Linked DNA regions of Homo sapiens: region 1 is linked to region 2. Evidence: promoter capture Hi-C in 16 types of primary human blood cells and fetal thymus (Javierre and others, 2016). All regions are on one chromosome and are shown on one strand. Each heading gives the region's core, a stretch centred on a gene start or on the middle of the fragment in contact. The rest is flanking DNA. Distances are from core to core; before and after follow the strand shown. Region 1 has its middle 100 kb from the start of LINC02849. Region 2 holds the start of CA1 (carbonic anhydrase 1).

Region 1 (3,606 bases), core at 344-2,843, 580 kb before region 2:
AGTAATAAAGTTAAGCAAGGAGTTAAAAGACCTACACACTAAAAATGATAAAACATTGATGAAAGAAATTGAAGAGTACACAAATAAATGGAAAAATATCCTGTGTTCATGCTTTGGGAGAATCAATATCATTAAAATGTTCATACCATCCAAAGCAATATTCAGATTCAACACAATTCCTAAGAAAATTCCAATGACATTCTTCACAGAAATAGAGAAAACAATCCATTTGTATGGAACCACAAAAAAAAATGTGTATGGAACCACAAAAATCCCCAAATAGCCCAAGTAATATTGCCAAAGGAAAGCACAGTTGAAGGCATCATACTGACTGACTTAAAATTATATTACAAAGTGATAGTAATCAAAACAGTATGGTATGGGCACAAAAAAGGAAATGCAGGCTAATGGAACAAAATTGAGTCCAGAAATAAATCCAAACTTGTGGTCAACTAATTTTTGACAAGGGCACCAAGAAGACACAATGGATAAAAGGTAGTCTCTTCAGTAAATTATGCTGGGAAAGCTGGATTTCCACAGGCAAAAGAATGAAGTCAGACCTCTATCTTGCACCATACATAAAAATCAACTCAAAATGGATAAAAGGCCTAAATGCAAGACCTGAAAGCATAAAACTCCTAGAAGAGAACATGGAGGAGAAGTTCCTTGATGTTACCCTTGACAATGATTTTTTGAATATCACACCAAAAGCACTAGCTACAGAAGGAAAAATAAATAAGTGGGATTATATCAAACTAAAAAGCTTAAACACAGCAGAGAAAGAAATCAACAAAATGAAAAGGTAACCTATAGACTGGGAAAAATATTTTCAAACCACATATCTGATAAGGGATTAATATCCAACATTTATAAAGAACTCTCACAACCCAATAGCAGAAAAACAAATAAACCTACTAAAAAATGAGCTAAAAACCTATGCAAATATTGATCCAAAGAAGACACAAAAATGGCCAAACAATATATAAAAAGGTGCTAAACATCATTAACAATAAGGGAAATGCAAATTAAAACTACTATGAGATATCACCTCACATCTGTTAGGATGGGCATTATGAAAAAGACAAGAGATAACAAATACTGGTGAGGATGTGGAGAAATGGAAACCCTAGTACACTGTTGGTCGGAAAGTAGTCATTATGAAAAACAGTGTGGGGGTTTCTAAAGAAATTAAAAATAGAACTACAATATGACCCAGAAATCTCTTTTCTGGGTATATACCCAAAGGGGATGAGATCATCACCTTGTAAAGGTATCTACGTCCTTCAATGTTCATTGCAGCATTATTCACAATAGCCAAGATATGAAAACAACCTAAGTGCCTGTTGACAGATGAATGGATAAAGAAACTGGTATAAATATACAATGGAATATTATTACTCAGCCTTAAAAAAGGAGATCCTGCCACTTGCCACAATATGGATGAAACTGAAGGACATTATGCTAAGTGAAATAAGCCAGACAAAGAAAGACAAATACTGCATTATCTCACTTATATGTGATATGTTTAAAAATGTCAAATATACAGAGAAAGAAAATAAAACAGTGGTTACCAGAGGCAGTGGGGAGCCAGGGGAATGGAAGAGGAAATGGGGCTATGAAGAATGAATGAGTTAGAGATCTAATGTACAACATGAAGACTGTAGTAACTAAAATTCTATTTTATTAGGAATCTTTGTTAAATAAGATTTTAGCTCTTACTGTGTTCTTGTCACAATAAAAAGTAACTGTATGAGTTGCTAGATATATTAATTTGCTTTGCTATAAGTAATCATTTTACTATCTATATGTATCTCATAACATCATGTTGTAAACCCCAAATATACACAATAAATTTATTTTTTAAATATTTTGTGTAACAGATTTAGTTTTGATACTCTTATGACTTTAAAACAATGACAGGAACTATACTGTATGGTTTTGTTTTTTAAATGAAGCAGGCTATTGTCTAAATGTATTAAAGCCAGCCAAAAGATTGACCATATGTGAAAACCTCAGGCAACAGCTCAAGGTGAAAGACAGAAAATATGGGACTATAATCCTGCAATGTTTCTAAACACAAAGCAGGCATAGCACAGATATGCAAATGAAGTAAAAAATAGGAATCATCATTGCTAGTCTTGAAGGCTTTCTGTCCCAAATGGAGACTCAAGGACAAGGAAACCAAAATGCTTTACTGTAATGCTCCAGAGACTCATTTAGCAAACAAGGGTATGATTATAGTTTATTTCTTTCTTGGAAATATTTCACATTCATCTTTCCCCTCCAAACACTTTGACCCTACCCTAGCTGGCTTCTTTTCCTTTCATGCCAGATTGCTGCCACAATCTAACTGTTTACCCTTATGTAAGACTATTCCTATCATAACCCTAATACTAACTGAAACCTTGCTTTAAGGAAGCTTCTGAAACAATTAGCAAAATCTTTCTAAACCCAAATCTTTCATCTCATTCTTCCATTTAAGATTCTTCATTACTTTTTACATTAAATCTAAGATTCACTTTCTAGTTTTCGATATTGCAAAGAAACTTTTTTCTTGATGGAAATTATATCTACATTGCTTTTAACATCTAGTTAGAGAATTATATATTGTACAAAAAAGTGACATTTATAAATTCAAAGTAGTTTAAATACAAGTTCCAACAAGAAAATTATAGAATGTTATAGGCTAACTGCAAAATTCATCTGGAAAATAAAACATGAAAGAATAATCAAAAAATTATTTTTTAACATAAGAGGGAATTTGATCTTTCATATATTGAAGCATGTACTTAAGTTATAATAATCAAAACTGCCTTACATTCCTTAAAAAATAGAACAATAGGGTGAACCCAATAGAGAGTTCAGAAACAGAGTAATGTATACTTTGAAATTTAGTAATGATAAAGGCAGTATCTCATATCAGAGTGAAAAGTACAAACTACTCAGTAAATAATTTTGTGCCAACTAATTTTTCATTTGAGGAAAAAAGGTAAATTATTTAAATTACACTATGTACAAAAGTGAACTCCAGCTGGATTAAAAAGTTAAATAAAAATTGTTTTAAAATAATTTCAACTTTTATTTTAGATTCAGGGACTACAAGTGCGGGCTTGTTACATGGGTATATTGCATGATACTGAGGTTTGGGGTACAAACCTCATGATCCTGTCAGCCAGGGAGTAAGCATAGTACTGATAGGTAATTTTTCAGTCCATGCCCCCCTCCCTCCTTCTCCACTCTAGTAGTACTAAATGTCTATTGTTCCCATCTTTATCTCCATGTGTACTCAGTGTTTAACTCCCATTTAAAAGTGAGGATGTGTGGTATTTGGCTTTCTGTTCATGCATTAATTCACTTAGGATAAATGCCTCCAGCTGCACCCATGTTACTTCAAAGGGCATGATTTTACTCTTTTTTAATGGCTGCATAGTATTCCATGGTGTATATGTATCACATTTTCTTTATCCAATCCACCATTCATAGGCATCTAAGTTGATTCTATGTCTTTACTATTGTGGATAGCACTGTGATGAACATACAAGTGCATATGTATATCTTTGGATATATACCTAGTAATGAGATTGCTGGGCTAAATGTTAATTTGGT
Region 2 (3,333 bases), core at 483-2,982:
CACCCTGTGTGCTCTCCTAGGAGTAAAAGGAGCATCTGCTGGTCTCCGACTGTCAAACCATTTATTCCCTTCCATCCTCCTCGCCTTCCCTTTCTCATTGTCAGTATCCCTACTCCCACCCCTATCTTTTCCGTCCTAACAGCATCTTCTCCTCTTGCCCTCTAAAAGACTACGTAAGTAAAATTCAAACCCACTGCCCCAGCTTCTCTGATATTTATACAGACATCCAAAATACAAACACATTTGACTGAAGTAGGCTCTTCTGCACTGACTATCCATAACTCATCACCCTGCTTCCACATATCCCACATCACACATTTACCCAACTGATAATTGCCCCAGAGATGAAAAATACTGAGAAATGAAAACCACTTCCAAACGGCCTTTTCTTCTGTATTGGGGTGCCCCCTCATGGCAAGTGGCAACTGCACTCGTATTTCCTCAATACATACCACAGATGGGCTACCCAATGAACAACTGCATATTCTCACCATATGCCCAACAAAAGCCACTGTCTTCCTCCAGTCCCATTCTTTAGTAATTTCCCTTTACCTAAATCAAGGTACAATTTTCCAGTCTAATGGTAATGCCACAAAACTATATTGTGTCCCAACCAACAAGGGTGTTTATCCCCTCTCCTTTGCCCTTCCATTACTCTGAAACTGGAAGCCACGAGATGCATTCTGGCCTCTCTTGGCATTCCTATTTATATAAATGTTAATTATTCTTTCCCTACCCAGCCAAATGTCATTGATGTGCCACATTTGTACCTATAATACTGGGACTCACCACTGCTCTGGGACTTGCTGCGATGGCCACAAGGACCATTGCTTTAGCCCAACAGTCAAAAATAATTGATGCTACCCTACAAATGTCCAAAACTCTAGTATATCATATTTCTAAGTTACAGCAAATATTAGTCCTGCTAAACCAGGGAGCTTTGGCAAAAATGTTTTTTGACAGTAAATTTGTCCTTGATTATATATTAACTAGTCAAAGAGGTGTTTGTAACATTATTAGAGCTTCTTGTTGTAGGTGGGTTAACACCACCAATCAAGAGGTCATTCTAACAGAAAGCCTGGATCAGAAAACCATCACCCTAAAAAAACATGCCTTACATATTTAACACACTCTGAAATCCAGTCAAAATATGACTAAAGGCCCTTGCCATGACTGATGTATTCTCCTGGCCAACGCCAAACAAATGGGAGCCTGGTTACGAGTCAGCCTTCAGGGACTTGTCACATTTCTACTTGGTTTCTTCCTTGTTATTGTCATAATAAAATGTTTTCTATGCTGTTTAGTGCAACTTAGGCCCTATTCTGTAGAAGTCTCCTCTACTATTCAGGCCACTCAAACACCCCAAATAATTGAGTTCAAAATCGACATCAAGATATAAAGGAATCAGTGACTAAATATATTTCATATATGGTATTTTTATTGATTATTGTGCTGTCTTGACCTAGTATGGAGGCCTTGGCTAGAGGCTGGTCAGTTTCCTCTCTTGAGCAGCTGATTAAATCCACACCCCAACCACTTCCCTTATCAGGTTCTCACACTCTGGGGCCACTATGTACCCACTCTAATCACCACAGGGCCAGACATCAGACAATTAAGGACAGCGCCCATGCCCCAAAGCCCGCCAAAATTATGCAAATTATTCAAAATTATTCAACCTAGCTAACCCCACCCTTTTTGCTGTACATAAGCTGCCCATTCCCCCTCCAGCCTGTGGTACCCAGTCCTCAGGTGCAACCCCCTGCGTGGTCCTCTGTGGCAGCCTTCTCTCATTCAGAGCTGTAAGTAACAAAGACTTCTGCCTTTCATCTAGCTGAGCATTGAAGTGTTTTATCCGACTGCCAAAAGAATCTTTAAATCTTGTAAAATACAGTCCTACCTACATCTTAATTACTATTCAATGAATGAAAGCTGCAAAGCTTAAAAAACCTTTATAGTTTTTCTAAACCTTTTATATTTATCAAGCAGATCTCTGTAAATCTGTAAATCTGAAAAGGATAATATAAATTACCTTTTTTTTTTTTGAGACAGAGTCTCACTTGGCAGCCTAGGCTGGAGTGCAGTGGCACCATCTCTGCTAACTGCAACCTCTGCCTCCCAGGTTCAAGTGATTCTCCTGCCTCAGCCTCCCGAGTAGCTGGGATTACAGGCACATGCCACCACACCTGGCTAATTACTGTATTTTTAGTAGAGGGGATTTCACCATGTTTGCAAGGCTGGTCTCGAACTACTGACCTCAGGTGATCTGCCCTCCTCAGCCTCCCAAAGTGCTGGGACTAGAGGCGTGAGCCACTGTGCCCAGCCAATATAAATTACCATTTAAAATTATTCCATGACTAATGTTCAATTTGACGTTAATTCCCCTAAACAAATAATGCAATTGATAGACTTGGTTAATTAAGTTCCTTTAAATATTATATATTATATCAATTACAAATTTAGTCTACCTGAATCTCTCAAGCATTTCAAATGCCTGACACATTAGTATCTTTTATACATCTTGCAAGTTTATAAAAGGAGGGAGGGGGCTCTAATAATTAAAGCAATTCCAGTAAAAGTAATAAACCAAATTTATGCAGTAGTAAGTTATGTTCTCTTAAACATTCAAACACTGTGTATAGACTGAAGAAAATGCTCTTGTACTTTAAAATTGAAATTATATGGTTCATATATCTGATTTTCTAATATATCAGGTTATATTAAATGCTTCAAGTAACTTAACAAACAATCTTTCATAGGTTATCTCAAGGATTAAATAATTAAATTTCTAAAGTTAATACAAATGTGTTAATATTGTGGATTTGACTAACTTCAACATTCTTATAGTTATTTCTCTCTTCTCCCAGTATTGTAAATCCACTTATGCAAATAAAGAGAATAGATAGATGTATGATCTGATTGGGCTGAGGATACTGTATCAGAGAATCAAGGCCAGGGTTGAAGTGTCAGTTAAAGAATTTGAGAGAGGGTCAGGGACCTAATTAGGTACCACACATGCCCAGGGTGCCTCTACACGACCCGAAAGTCAATCTGCTGGGCATCTCCTTGAGGTAACAGAGCTTTCCAAATTCACACTGTTTCATGCAGTCTAGTATATCATGTGTACCCTTACCTAGTTTTATTTATTTATTTATTTATTTATTTATTTATTTATTTATTTATTTATTTTTGAGACAATTTCTCTGTCACCAGGCTGGAGTGCAGTGGTGTGATCTCAGCTCACTGTAACCTCTGCCTCCTGGGTTCAAGCAATTCTCTTGCCTCAGTCTCCGGAGTACCTGGGACTACAGGCATGTGCCACCACGCCCGTCTAAT

The links. Contacts are between HindIII fragments. The CHiCAGO score rates a contact against its expected background, and 5 or more counts as called.
Region 1: a fragment that was not itself captured here is called in contact with the fragment with the promoter of CA1 in region 2 in 6 of 17 cell types (erythroblasts, naive B cells, total B cells and 3 more); the score reaches 13.9 in erythroblasts.

What each region holds. Positions count from the first base shown.
Region 1 is chr8:85,954,892-85,958,497 of GRCh38, reverse strand. No RefSeq gene overlaps it. Among named protein-coding and RNA genes, the nearest start is that of LINC02849, 100 kb to the right of the region's middle. The HindIII fragment of the contact is 1,656 bases long and covers 766-2,421 here.
Region 2 is chr8:85,376,512-85,379,844 of GRCh38, reverse strand. CA1 (carbonic anhydrase 1) reads left to right here and starts at 1,732. Exons shown (of 8, transcript NM_001128831.4): 1 at 1,732-1,799. RefSeq lists a promoter at 913-1,704. The HindIII fragment of the contact is 5,896 bases long and covers 1-1,939 here.